Linked DNA regions of Homo sapiens: regions 1, 2 and 4 are each linked to region 3. Evidence: promoter capture Hi-C in 16 types of primary human blood cells and fetal thymus (Javierre and others, 2016). All regions are on one chromosome and are shown on one strand. Each heading gives the region's core, a stretch centred on a gene start or on the middle of the fragment in contact. The rest is flanking DNA. Distances are from core to core; before and after follow the strand shown. Region 1 overlaps AP1G1 (adaptor related protein complex 1 subunit gamma 1). Region 2 has its middle 10 kb from the start of TERF2. Region 3 holds the start of COG4 (component of oligomeric golgi complex 4). Region 4 holds the start of ZNF821 (zinc finger protein 821).

Region 1 (3,507 bases), core at 769-3,268, 1.3 Mb after region 3:
ACCAACAGCAACTACACTGGCCTTATGCTCTAAATGCTTCCTTTTTCCAACTCTTAATTTCTACTATTATTTTTCTCTTTAATGTAGATGCTGGTAGTTTATGCCATCTCAAATCCTTTGTACAGCAAGGCAGGGCTAAGATATTTTTTTGTTGTTGTTGTTTGAGACAGAGTCTCGCTTTGTCGCCCAGGCTGGAGTGCAATGGTATGATCTCGGCTCACTGCAACCTCCACCTTCCAGGTTCAAGTGATTCTCCTGCCTCAGCCTCCCAAGTAGCTGGGATTACAGGCACCCACCATCACGCCTGGCTAATTTTTGTATTTTTAGTAGAGACAGAGTTTCACCATGTTGGCCAGGATGGTCTCAAACTCCTGACTTCAGGTGATCCCCCTACCTTGGCCTCCCAAAGTGCCAGGATTACAGGCGTAAGTCACCGTGTCCATCCTACCCCTTAAGTTTTATTGCAAAACTTAAGACTTTTAAAATATAGCTACTAGAAATTTTTAAATTTCTATGTAGCTTGTGTTTTATTTCTATCAGCACCATACTAGATACTGTAGTAAAAAGTTTTAAAAAGGTGAAATTAGTTTTAATAATATTCTTTAATCAATATATCTAAAATATCATTTCAACGTATGATCAACACAAAAATTATAATTAGGTATTTTACACTTGCTTTTGCACTAAAGCTTCTATATACAGTATGTACTTTACACTTACAGCACATCTCAATTTGTACATTTTCATCAGAAATAGCTAAACTAAAAAGAAAAAAAAAGAAATAGCTGAACTGTATTTAGATTTCATAAAATTTACTATTTATAAAGTAGACTCACATACCCAAGTTGTTTAAAACATATTTAAAAGTCTTCCAATAACTAGGCTGGGTGTGGTGGCTCACACCTGTAATTCCAGCACTTTGGGAGGCCAAGACGGTGGATCATTTGAGGTCAGGAGTTCAAGACTAGTCTGGACAACATGGTGAAACCCTGTCTCTACCAAAAATACAAAAATTAGCCGGGTGTGGTGGCAGGTGCCTGTAGCCCAGCTACTCAGGAGGCTGAGGCAGGAGAATCGCTTGAACCTGGGTAGTGAAGGCTGCAATGAGCCAAGATTGTGCCATTGTACTCCAGCCTGAGTGACAAGAGCGAAACCCTGCCTCAAAAAAAAAAAAAAAAAAAAAAAAGTGGGCTGGGAATGGTGGCTCACGCCTGTAATCCCAGCACTTTGGGAGGCCGAGGCGGGCAGATCACGAGGTCAGATCGAGACCACCCTGGCTAACACAGTGAAATCCCGTCTCTACTAAAAACACAAAAAAATTAGCCAGGCATGGTGGCAGGCGCCTGTAGTCCCAGCTACTAGGGAGGCTGAGGAAGGAGAATGGCGTGAACCCAGGAGGCAGAGTTTGCAGTGAGCTGAGATCACACCATTGCACTCCAGCCTGGGCAACAGGGCGAGACTCCATCTCAAAGAAAAAAAAAAGTGGCTATTATTATACACTAAATGAAAATGGCACTGTGATCATACGTGCAGGTGACAAAATCTAGATATGAACCTTTTAAAGGCATATTATAAAGGTAATTCCAACGGATGGGGTACCAAATTACTGATATGAACAAGATGGTGACTCATTGAAACAGAGGAAACAGAATAAGAACTTAAAATTATGATTCCCAGTCCCATTCAGAAAAATATTTTATGATAAAATTTTAGCACAGTTTTCTCGAGCATTTACTTTCTAAGAATTAAATATTTTATCAAATAATTAAGTCCCAAAATACCCCCAAATGCCACCTAACCTTAAAAGCACATTCTATTTAAACATATTAAAGAAATGAATCTTAGAAAATATAGAGAGATTTTTTACAAAATGAAATATCCCCCAAAGTCTTAAATCTACTCTGATTCCAAATTCAAGAATTTGCCCTTAGTCCAGGGACTGTGGCTTACACCTATAATCACAGCACTTTGGGAGGTTGAGGCCCAAAGATCACTTGAGCCCAGGAGTTCAACACCAACCAGGGAACTGTGGCAGAAATCCAACTCAACAAAAATTTTTTTTTTTTGAGAAAGAGTCTCATTCTGTTGCCAGGCTGGAGTACAGTGGCACGATCTCAGCTCACTGCAACCTGTACCTCCCGGATTCAAACGATTCTCCTGCTTCAGCCTCCTGAGTAGCTGGGACTACAGGCACGCACCACCATGCCCAGCTAATTTTTGTATTTTTAGTAGAGAGGGGGTTCCACCATGTTGGCCAGGATAGCCTCTATCTCTTGACCTCATGATCCACCCACCTCGGCCTCCCAAAGTTCTGGGTGTACAGGCGTGAGCCACCGCACCCAGCCCAAATTTTTTTTTTAATTAGCTGACCGGGCACAATAGTGCACGCCTGTAATCTCAGTACTTTGAGAGGCCAAGACACATGGATTGCTTGAGCTCAAGAGTTCAAAATGAGCCTGAGCAACACAGCAAAGCCCTGTCTCTATAAAAAATACAAAAATTAGCCGGGTGTGGTTCCCAGAAGGTCGAGGCTGCAGTGAGCCCAGTAGAAAGTAAGCCTGAGGTGTCCACTGCACAATCCAGCCTGGGCAACAGAGTGAGATCCCGTCTCAAAAAATTAGCTGGGCCCGGGCACAGTGGCTCACTTCTGTAATCCCAGAACTTTAGGAGGCCGAGACAGACAGATAACGAGGTCAGGAATTCGAGACCAGCCTGGCCAATATGGTAACATTCCGTCTCTACTAAAAATACAAAAATTAGCCGGGTGTGGTGGCACACACCTGTAGTCCCAGCTACTCGGGAGGCTGAGGCAGAAGAATCTTTTGAACCCAGTAGGTGGAGGTTGAAGTGAGCCGAGATCACGCCACTGGACTCCAGCCTGGGCAACACAGCGAGACTCTGTCTCAAAAAAAAAAAAAAAAAAAAAAAAAATTAGCTGGGTGTGGTGCCATGCACCTGCAGTCCCAGTGACTCGAGAGGCTGAGGTAGGAGAACTTGAGCCCAGTAGGTTGAGGTGACAGTGAGCCATCACAGAGCCACAGCATGGGCCATAGAGCAAGACCCTGCCTCTAAAAACAACAAAAAAAGAATATGCTCTTAAAGAACTTCCTTGGGAATATGTAAATGTACTGCTTCCAAAATGTTAATAATGCTTATCGCTGAGGAATTAAGAGTCTTCTCCCTCACTAGACTTTTTTATAGCCCAATTTCTAATATATCAGATTTCTGTAAATCTAACCTAATACTTAAAATCAATCAACCGATCAACAAGAACACGTAGGCATCTATTTGCTTTATACTATGACACACAGTATATGGATAACCACCTGGATCAATTTTTGATGTGGTAAAGCTTATAACTGAAACATCAGAGCCTCAGGGTTTCATTCCACTCCTAACACTCTACGAATGAAATATGAAATATATTTCAAAGAACATATTATATTTTTAGAAACTATTCATGTGAAAGAGAAGAATGCTATTATGACACTAATTCTGTCCCAAACC
Region 2 (3,412 bases), core at 851-3,350, 1.1 Mb before region 3:
AGGGAGCATAGGGTCTTGCACTCAGCAGGCAGTCAGTAAACATGGAGTGCGTAACATGTGAGTAACCCTATTAAGATTAGGCTATATGAGCACATTCCCATCTGCTACTACATGGCAAGAAATGGATAGATTATGTGGCCCTTCCCAGTCCTGAGGGAGCATCGTTATATATACAGATTCCCCAGCAATGGGAATTTTGTATATTTCTGATTCTTCTCCTAACTGCTGAACTAGGAATCTATTCTGATTCCTCCCCTACCTGCTGAATTAGCATGGAGGGGGTGCGCAGAAAGGAGCTATTTTAAATTAAACTCTCTGGGAGATTCTGGTTTTGATGCCCTGTCAAGTAGGGAAATGATCAAATTATTATATTCCTCATCAAAAGTAACAATTTGGCAGTATCTATCAAAACTTAAAATTCACATGTATTTTGAACCTATGGTTTCTCCCAGCTCCATCCTATGCCAACAATGTAGGCACAAAGATATTCAGGGCAGCAATTTTTTTCTTTTGCTTAGATTTGAGATCCCAACAATGCAGCATTTTTGAAATGGACAAATATTAGAGAGTTGGCAAATGTCTATTCATTCATTAGACACATTCTGTTGACATATTCCCACTATCAGGAACAGCAAAAACAAAGTACCTATAATAAAGTCCCTATTCTTACCGAGATGTACTTTTTAATCCATCAAAAGAGGACTGAATAAATAATTTATGATACATTCAAGCAATGGAATATTATGCCTCCATCAGAAGGAATGAGGTTTGTCACTACATACAGCTTTGAAAAGATGTAAAAGACAATTTTTTAAACTTAGGAATCTTTTGAATGTATTACCTCTTCCAAATGAAGAAAATAAAAAAGAGAAAAGCAAGTTTCGGCTAGGTGCAGTGGCTCGTGCCTGCAATCCCACCACTTTGGGAGGTCGAGGCAGGCAGATCACTTGAGGCCAGGAGTTCGAGACCAGCCTGGCTAACATGGTGAAACCTTGTCTCTACTAAAATTACAGAAATTAGCTAGGTGTGGTGGCACACGCCTGTAATTCCAGCTACTCAGGAGGCTGAGGCAGGAGAATCACTTGAACCCAGGAGAAGGTTGCAGTGAGCAGAGATTGCACCACTGCACTCCAGCCTGGGCGACAGAGCGAGACTTTGTCTCAAAAAAAAAGAAAAAAGAAAGAAAAGCAAGTTTCAAAACAGGGTATCAGTATTATCCTACTTGTGGATAAAAATTATATACATATGGATATATATATATATAGATACATTCATAGAAAAAATTGTGAAAGAATGTTAAAAAATTGCTAGCAATAGAACTAGAAAATGGAACTAGGAAGGGAAGATTTTTCTTTTCTCTTTATACTCTTTCATGCTGGTTCAAAATTTTATTTTATTTTATTTTTATGTATTTTTTGTAGAGAGGGGGTCTTGCTATATTGCCCTGACTGGTCTCAAACTCCTGGCCTCAATGGATCCTCCCACCTCAGCCTCCCAAACTGTTGGGATTACAGGCATGAGCCACTACACCTGGCCTAAAAATTTTGACCAAAGGAAAGCTTACTTTTCCAATTTTTTAAACCATTACAAAAATTCCATATAATCTTGAGAGACCATGAAATCTTAAACTTCCAGCAGGGGGCAGCAACGATTCTCAAATATCTCTGACGTCAGCACAAAGCTGAGGATTAGCGTCCCCAGGTTTCCATTTCCAGGCCCAAATACTGTCCTTGCATCACCAGATCATAAAGGAAACAAAACGCAATAACCACAGAAGGCTTAAAATGCCGCAGGAATTGTTGTGTAACAAAACATTTCTGTATGGCTCTTTGTTAACACATCTGCGAGTTAAACTGCCTTTTCTCTCTCTGGAGCTCACAGTTTTCTCATCCATTAAATTGAGGGGGTTTGATGAGATCATGTTAAAAGTTCTCTTTCCATTTCTGTAATGCTAAGCCTTTATGACTTAAAACCCAGTATCAGGAAGAAACAAGCCCCAGTGCCCTCTGAAATTAACTGGCTTATCAAAGAATCTGCTTTAAAACCCTCAGCTGGTCAGTGAATTACTGCCAGTTTATCTTTAGTGTAGATCAAAGAATACTTTTTTTCAGGGGGGAGGATGTTGGTATTTACTTAACTCACTGATGGAGAAAAAGAACGCTCCCACTCTATAAATGTTTAGCATGTGTGTAAAGGTCGTAGGTCTGGTGTTCAGAAATTACATACAGGCTTACGAAAGAATCTGCACTGGGTTGGCCAAATTAAACAACAGGCAGTTGTAGAGAAATAAACACAAGTTAACATTTAACCACAACAAGTCTCTGTTCTTGCTGCTCAGTCTTTCTCACTAGGAGGAGCCTTGAGAAGGTCAGAGAGCTCTGGCTATTCTAGCGAGAGGGCTCTTCTGAGAATGCACTAATCTATTACTTTTATAATATATATATATCGGCCGGGCGTGGTGGCTCATGCATGTAATCCCAGTACTTTGGGATTCCTCATCTGTAAGATGGGGATACCAAAGACCTCTAAGACTGTTAATTGCTGTGAGGGTTAAATGATATAATACATTATCAAATTGCTTAGCATGGGACCTGGCAACTGGAAAGACTTGTTAAAATATGAGTTAATAATATTGTTTAATAAAGCTTAAGCAATATAAGAATCATACATACAGCCACATTTCTGGGGTGTAGACACCCCTTCTCAAATTATTCAGAATCTCCCAGCACCAAAAGATTCATTTCCTATATTTTTATAAGAAATGTATTCTTCCCCTGACATAGTTGTCTTTTTTTTTTTTTTTTGAGACGGAGTCTCGCTCTGTCACCCAGGCTGGAGTGCAGGCGTGATCTCGGCTCAATGCAAGCTCTGCCTCCCAGGTTCACGTCATTCTCCTGCCTCAGCCTCCTGAGTAGCTGGGACTACAGGCGTCTGCCACCATGCCTGGCTAATTTTTTGTATTTTTAGTAGAGATGGGGTTTCACCGTGTTAGCCAGGATGGTCTTGATCTCCTGACCTCATGATCCGCCCGACTCAACCTCCCAAAGTGTTGGGATTACAGGTGTGAGCCCCCGCGCCTGGCTGGTTATCTTCTTTGAGACAAGAGCTTGCTCTGCTGCCCAGGCTGGAGTGCAGTGGCTCGGTCATGGCTCACTGCAGACTTGGACTTCCCAGGCTGAAGATATCCTCCCACCTCAGCCTCCCAAGTAGCTGGGACTACAGGTGTGAGCCATCCCACCCAGCCCATAGTTATCTTTTGATCATATTAGAATGTCTTCAGGAAAGAATGATGCAAACAGGCCCCAGCCCCCAAGTCCCAAAAGCTGGGGCAAGGTTCCAGGGAAGGAGAGATGAGATGGAGGCTAGACCTCAGAACAGGCAAATCAAGACAGCCAAGACAGGCAATCAATCA
Region 3 (3,630 bases), core at 660-3,159:
CATATTAAATGACTGAATGAATGCGAGCTTAGGAATGTTAAGTCAAGATACTAAATTTTTTTTTTTTTTTTTTTTGAGACAGAGTCTCACTCTGTCGCCGAGGCTGGAGTGCAGTGGTGCGATCTCGGCTCACTGCAAGCTCCTTCTCCCTGGTTCACGCCATTCTCCTGCCTCAGCCTCCCGAGTAGCTGGGACTACAGGCGCCCGCCACCACGCCCGGCTAATTTTTTGTATTTTTAGTAGAGACGGGGTTTCACTGTGTTAGCCAGGATGGTCTCGATTTCCTGACCTCGTGATCCATCTGCCTCAGCCTCCCAAAGTGCTGGGGTTACAGGAGTGAGCCACCGCGCCAGGCTTTTTTTTTTTTTAAGAGACACAATTTTGCTCTTGTTGCCCAGGCTAGAGTGTAATGGCGCTATCTTGGTTCACTGCAACCTCCGCCTCCCAGGTTCAAGCAATTCTCCTGCCTCAGCCTCCCGAGTAGCTGGGATTACAGGCATGCGTCACCACACCCGGCTAGTTTTGTATTTTTAGTAGTGATGGTTTTCACCATTTTGGTCATGCTGGTCTCGAACTCCTGACTCAGGTGATCCTCCCGTCTTGGCCTCCCAAAGTGCTGGGATGGCAGGCGTGAGCCACCGCGCCCCGCAAGATACTAAATTTTAAAACACATCTTGCTGAGGCCAGACAAAAAAAGCCCCACACACTAAACTAGCCAGGCACGGTGGTGTGCGCCTCTGGTTTCATCCATTCTGATTGCAGCACAACAGCACTCCAGCCTGCGCAACAGAGAGCGGCCCTGTTTCTAAAAATAACAAAACAAAACAAAAAACACCACACACATCTTGCTGAAAAACGTATCAGAAACTGCTAGAGTTAGTGCAAGTTTATACTTGAAAATACTCAAAGATATCAACGATCACCTCTCCCTCAGGCTGAAACTGCCTTTTGTGCTCAACTTTGCTAGAAGTTTGGTCTGGGAAACAGCTGACAAGCTTAGAGCTTAGATCTCTTTTGACTAGCAAGGAACCCAACTGACATTCGAAAGTGAATTGACAGCATCGAGTTGCCACTGAAAATTAAAGGAGGCAGGAAATAGAACGTTATGAACTGAAAGGAATTGGAGAATAGTCCACACCCCTCATTTGATAAAATATCAAGGGTACCAGAGATGAAGTGACTTGTCCAAGATTAGAGAATTGTGTCTGAGTCTTAAAAGCTAAACCTCTACAAAGATGTGCATTTGACCAAAACGCTAAAATCACACCCCCAAATCACTCCCCACAAGAGGAAGTCTTAAAACGCTTCAAGAAGTTAATCTGCAAAGGCTTCCCTCTTAAATAACAGGATGAGAGCGTTTCATAATTTGTAAATTAAGCCAATGCAAAAGGGCGCTTATTATTTTGAGAACCAAGCAATTTGGCAAATACTCTCAGACTAACTTTACTCCCGTGGAGAAACTGGTGATCATGGATCAGGGAAATCAACGGGGGTCTAGGGAGGAGAGGCTGCAGATCGCCCAGGTATCAGGGAAGACAAGCTCGGCGCGTCCGACAGCGTGAAAAGAGTTGACAGGACTACTCATATACCCGACTAGCTTCCGCTTCTTTGTTTTCCCGCTTTTTTGTATCCCCCAGCAAGGAGAGTTTCCCACAGCCCGGATTTCCCGACTGAAGGCTCCCACTCTCCCTAGATCCTCCATGAAAAAGAAGAGGCTCGACCCCGCACCTCCTCGCCGCAGAGCCGTTCGTATACAGCCTCCAGCTCCTGCAGCTCTGTCAGGGAGCGAATGAGCTCAGCGGAGATTTCGGAGCAGCGGCCACCTCCCACCCCCTCAGACGGCTGCTGCACCCCTGACAGCTTCGGAGGCGAATCAAGGTCCGCCATCTTGGTCCCCATTCGGCACTTCCGGTCCCGCGAGGCCCCCTCTTCGTTGGCGCCTATTTGGGGCTGCCCACAGAAGTGCCCAATGAACTCTAATGGTTTTTTTTTTTTAAAGTCTACTTCTAAAAACGTATTAATTTTCTATTCTCCTGGAAAAAGCAAAGCAATAAAGCATGTTTAAATAATTTGTAATGCCGTGTGGAAGCAAGACGGAAGCATTTTTTAAAAATTATATATATTCTTCAGGCGCGGATTGGGTGCCTTTTTCCGCCGCGCGCCACCAGAATGTCCCTGTCTTGAGGTCTAATGGCGGACGCCAGTATGTTGGAGTTGGTGGTGGCTTAAGTTTTGAAGGGAGGTAGCATCCGTTGGATATCCACACCATCCTTCTCGCTGCAGGGTAAAAAAACAGCCTGGAGACTTCCCCGGGCCCGGGGAGGCGGAGACCGGCCATATGGAAGGGGGACCCGAGACTTTGGCGGGGGTCACGGGCAGTCTAGGCCCGAGAGGCTGGGGACCAGGAGGAGGTACCGAGGGATGGTTGAGGCGCCAAAACGGCTTCCTGCAGTTATCTCTCGCTTCCATCCACAGTGTGGGAACATATTCTATCTCAAAATAGGGCTCGTGGAGATTGCTTTTAACTTCTGGGGACTCTGAGACGGGGGAGGTGTGACAAGCAGCGGGAGGCATGGATGTCTCCCTCTGGGTAGAGTAAATGGTACACCGAGGGGAAGATAGAAAGATGGAGCGTGTTAAAAGCGTAAATAACGGAAACAGTCTTTAGAGCCAAGACTCCGGTTTGAATTTGTATTTTGGTAGTTGGGCAACTTGTCTCCTCCTCTGAACCTCTATTTTCTCGTTTGCGTAATGGAGGACAGAGTTTAAATGCGATGATGTTTCCTTGGAGGATGGAGAAGATGCAGTGAGCAATCATACAAGCTTTTTGTAATAATGGTAAACAGACGTGGGGGAAGTTTTTTTTGTTTTGTTTTGTTTTGTTTTTGTGACGGAGTCACAGTCTGTCGCCCAGACTGGAGAGCAGTGGCGCGATCTCGGCTCACTGCCATCTCTGCCTCCCGGGTTCCAGCGATTCTCTTACCTCAGCCTCCCGAGTAGACTAGCTGGGATTACGGGCGCGTGCCACCACGCCCGGCTAATTTTTCTTTTTTTGAGACGGTGTCTCGCTTTGTCGCCCAGGCTGGAGTGCAGTGGCGCGATCTCTGCTCACTGCAAGCTCCGCTTTCCGGGTTCACGCCATTCTCCTGCCTCAGCCTCACGAGTAGCTGGAACTACAGGCGCCCGCCACCGCGCCCAGCTAATTTTTTGTATTTTTAGTAGAGACGGGGTTTCACTGTGTTAGCCAGGATGGTCTCGATCTCCTGACCTTGATCCACCCGCCTTGGCCTCCCAAAGTGTTGGGATTACAGGTGTGAGACACCGCGCCCGGCCCAGACGTGGGGGAAGTTTTAAAGCTTACCAAATTTATCTGGTATGTATTTTTTGTTTGTTTGTTTTGTTTTTGAGACGAAGTCTCGCTGTCGCCCAGGCTGGAGCGCAGCGGCTTGATCTCGGCTTACTGCAGCCTCCTCCTCCTTGGTTCTAGCTATTCTCACGCCTCAGCTTCCCGAGTAGCTGAGATTAAAGGCGTGTGCCACCGCGCCCGGCTAGTTTTTGCATTTTTAGTAGAGGGGTTTTCACTGTGTTGGCCAGGCTGGTCTCAATTCCTGACCTCAAGTGACCCATTTG
Region 4 (3,580 bases), core at 88-2,587, 1.4 Mb after region 3:
AACCCAGAGACATACAGCCCTAAAGGTCACTCATTTTGTTTTACTTTTAACACTGCCTCAATTTCCAAGCCAAAACCTGAAACCAAACCAAACCAAAAATGTAAATAGATAGCTGCCTGAACATGGGCTGGGAAGACAGGTAAACGGTGAGATTCAGGTCTAAAGGGATTCCATTTTAAAAGGAAAGCAGTTCTGTCTGTCTTCAGAGCAAGGTTAAGAGTCCTCGGGAAGGTGCAACGTCTCCCCTGAACACTGTCTCTGCTCTCCCACAGGTATTAGGTTGCAGCGTCTAGGGCACACCACAGACTTTGGCAAGAAAAAAAACGAGTGAAATCTCAGCTTGATGAAAAGAGAGTGCGTTCCCACCTCCAGCTCTGGTGCAGTTCCCACGGAGCAAAGCAAACTCGACTGAATCCAAGTGATCTGTATCTGCCAAAAAGGAGAGGACAAGAAAGCTGGTCACTTAGCCGCCTGGCTGTTCACCTGACCCCTGGGGTTGGGTCTGGGGCGTGTCTAATCAGCCGAGATGGTCCCTCTGCTTCTTCAAGCATGAGCCCAGGTAAATTCCCAGGAATTACCAGACAAGAGCCTGACAAGAGCCGGAGGTCTTCCGAGGCGGCTCAGACAAACCCTTAGACAACACAATCTCCGAAATCTAAATTTAGAAGCTTTTCTGCGAGACCCAGACGCGGGGACTGATACCCCCCGGTCTGCACGCCCACGCCCATCCTCCCCTCCCCCAGCTCCACCCAAGGCTGTCAGACGCCGGGGCCGTCCCCGCCGGGGCCCGAGGAGGCGGGGTGCCCGCGGCCCGCGCAAAAGCCCCCCGGCCCCGCACCCCGCGCCCCGCGCCCGAGAGCGCCAAGGGGCAGCAGGAGGAGCGGCCGGGGAGGAATTGGGGTTGGAAGCGGGGAGGGTGAGCCCGGGCTGCCCCCCTAGGCCGGAGCTGGCCCCCGGCCCTCTCCCCAGTGCAGACAAAAGGACCAACAGCCGGCGGCCGCGAGGGGGCGAGGAGCCCGCATCCCCAGCCCGGACCCGGAGGGAGGGCAGGGGGTCTTTTTACCCGGCGCCTCGGCGCTGCGCTGCGCTCTGGGTCCCTGGGCCCCGCCTCCGGACAGACGGACCGCCGGACAATGGACCCGGGACCGCAGCCCAAGCCAGCCGGGCCGGGGCGCTCCGGGACTGGGCCCCGGCGAGCGGAAGGGGCTCCGGGCCGAGCCGAGCCGGTGGCGGGGAGCCGAGGGGCGGCGCTGCAGACGGACAAAGCCAACAGCAGACAGACAGACGGAGGGGGAAAAAGATGGCGACGCGGGCGGCGGGAGCGCGCGGCTCGCGCACCCGCAGCTAGTGAGGCGCGTGCACGAGCCTCCCTCTCCCCCTCCCCCGCGCCGGCCAGGTCCCCTTCCCCGCGGCCCGGCGCGCGCCTGGCGTTGTGGGCGGGGCCTGAGGAGAGGGGCTCTGGAGAGGAGGGGCTCCGGGGAGCGCCCAATCCCGGGCGCCCGAGAGGGGCTCGCCCGCGTTCCAGGGCTCCGGAACCCCCCGCCTCGCCCATTCCCGGGTCTTTCTCTGGCTGTCTCAGCCGCTCAGCTCCCCCAGACCTTCCTGGACGTGTAAACGCCACCCTACCCAGCCCCGATCCTGGTTTCTTACCCCACCATCGAGTTCAGCCACAAAACCCACAACCCCCAACCACAGCTCCGCCGCAGGCACCCCCTCTCCTTAGCCCGGATCCCCACCACCGTCACAAACCCTCTTCGCCTCATTCCCCCACGCTTCGCGGTGGCTTCGGCTCCCGAGGCTTTGAATGTGACCACGGGCCTTGGTGGGAGGGGCCAAGTTCAGCTGTCAGAACCTCAGAGCTGGGAAATCTTGAGATTTCTTTTGAGTATTTAATTTTCTGACATGATTCTCAACTGATAAAATAACATTGGCTGCAGACCCAGGGGCAGGGGAACTTGTGGCACTGTTGTCACTTGAGGGATGTTTGGGGGCAATGGAGAGCCGTTGGACCTTTTTTTTTTTTTTTTTTTTGAGACAGAGTCTCGCTCTGTCACCCAGGCTGCAATGCAATGGCGCGATCTTCGCTCACTGCAACCTGCGCCTCCCAGGTTCAAGCGATTCTCGTGCTTCAGCCTCCCGAGTAGCTGGGACTACAGGCGTGCACCACCACGCCCAGCTAATTTTTGTATTTTTAGTAGACGGGGTTTCACCATGTTGGCCAGGCTGGTCCCGAACTCCTGACCTCAGGTGATCCTCCCGCCTCGGCCTCTCAAAGTGCTGGGATTACAGGCGTAAGCCACTGTGCCCGGCCTGGTTGGACGCACTTCTAGTCAAACACCTCCTCCTGTCCACGTCCTTCTCTCTCCTAGTTCCTGTTGCCTTCTTTTCTTCCTCTCTTCTAGAATGCCTGAGCCTGCCCTGGCATCGCTTACCTGGAGAAGCAGGGAATGCAGAGGAAAGAAGATGAGATCTGGTATTAGAAGATCTGGCTTTGAGCCCCAGCTCTGCCACCCACCAGCCTGTTGACTTTGGGCAAGTCACTTCCCTGTTCTGAGCCTCTGCTTCCTAAGATGTCAAATGGATAATGATGCAATAATTCCTGGCCTTTACTCTCCGAGGGTTGTTGTGCCAGTTAAGTAAAACAAATGGCTAAAAGCATCATGCAAATGTTTTTCGTGATTACTGGCTGCACAAAGGCAGGGCTAACGAGGATGCTGTCATTTGCTGATAAAGTGACAAGTCCTGGTATTTGCATAGAACATTCTTGCAAATTGTCTTTCCCCTAAATCTTTTATGAGATGATCTCATTGTCTGCATCTTGTGTTCAATGTAATAGAATGATTACATTGAGGGATCTTGGTCCTTCACAATTCTGTGATAAATAGCTCATTCATCATTCACTCATTTATTTATTGTGATTAGGATACTTAGATAGCAATTATTGTTGTTTAACTTCAGTCAAGGAAACATTTTAATTTCATTTAAAAACTTAGTTTCCAAGTAGACAGAAAATGGAATATTATCATCCAACCCGCAAGTGTTTGTACTATTTTGTGTAAGAATACAACCTAGAATACACACTGGCTTTTATATTTAACAGTAATTCTTGATCAGTTTGGACTGAGGGATACAAGTATGGCTTTATTATGTCACTTTAAAGCTGACTTAGTTGACATTTTCAACAGAAAAGTAGCAAACAGGTAAAGTTTGCCTCCAGTGAAATTTCTTGGATGCATTATTATTATGTAATGTTGGGCAGCTTATTCCATCTCCTTGACTTCCAAATAAAATGAGATGATAATAATGCTATTCTTATGACTTCCCTGTGCTCTAAAAATTTCTCAGAGGTGTTGTGATTCAAGGTTACAACCAAATAATGAAAAAATTATTAAATACGTAATTAGTTTAAGTTAGGCATGGTGGCTGGCACCTATAGTCCCAGCTACTCAGGAGGCTGAGATGGTATGATGACTTGAGCCCAAGTGTTTGAGGCCAGCTTGGGCCACATAGTGAAACCCTTGTCTCTTTAAAAAAGAAGAATTAATTTATTTTTCCTCTGCTTTCACCTAAACTTGTTCTA

What was found. Contacts are between HindIII fragments. The CHiCAGO score rates a contact against its expected background, and 5 or more counts as called.
Region 1: a fragment that was not itself captured here is called in contact with the fragment with the promoter of COG4 in region 3 in 1 of 17 cell types (M2 macrophages); the score reaches 5.7 in M2 macrophages.
Region 2: a fragment that was not itself captured here is called in contact with the fragment with the promoter of COG4 in region 3 in 1 of 17 cell types (fetal thymus); the score reaches 5.5 in fetal thymus.
Region 4: a contact is called between the fragment with the promoter of ZNF821 here and the fragment with the promoter of COG4 in region 3, in 3 of 17 cell types (M2 macrophages, M1 macrophages and M0 macrophages). The highest score is 12.1, in M2 macrophages.

Annotation. Positions count from the first base shown.
Region 1 is chr16:71,784,414-71,787,920 of GRCh38, forward strand. All of the region lies in intron 2 of AP1G1 (adaptor related protein complex 1 subunit gamma 1), which reads right to left. Among named protein-coding and RNA genes, the nearest start is that of AP1G1, 23 kb to the right of the region's middle. The HindIII fragment of the contact is 2,663 bases long and covers 688-3,350 here.
Region 2 is chr16:69,394,574-69,397,985 of GRCh38, forward strand. No RefSeq gene overlaps it. Among named protein-coding and RNA genes, the nearest start is that of TERF2, 10 kb to the left of the region's middle. The HindIII fragment of the contact is 1,086 bases long and covers 1,558-2,643 here.
Region 3 is chr16:70,521,645-70,525,274 of GRCh38, forward strand. COG4 (component of oligomeric golgi complex 4) reads right to left here and starts at 1,910. Exons shown (of 19, transcript NM_015386.3): 1 at 1,729-1,910. The coding sequence starts at 1,899. SF3B3 (splicing factor 3b subunit 3) reads left to right here and starts at 2,172. Exons shown (of 26, transcript NM_012426.5): 1 at 2,172-2,284. RefSeq lists enhancers at 1,543-1,682, 2,716-3,453. The HindIII fragment of the contact is 1,828 bases long and covers 994-2,821 here.
Region 4 is chr16:71,882,845-71,886,424 of GRCh38, forward strand. ZNF821 (zinc finger protein 821) reads right to left here and starts at 1,338. Exons shown (of 8, transcript NM_001201552.2): 1 at 1,064-1,338; 2 at 367-429. RefSeq lists enhancers at 164-363, 2,204-2,704 and silencers at 724-843, 864-1,623. The HindIII fragment of the contact is 5,845 bases long and covers 667-3,580 here.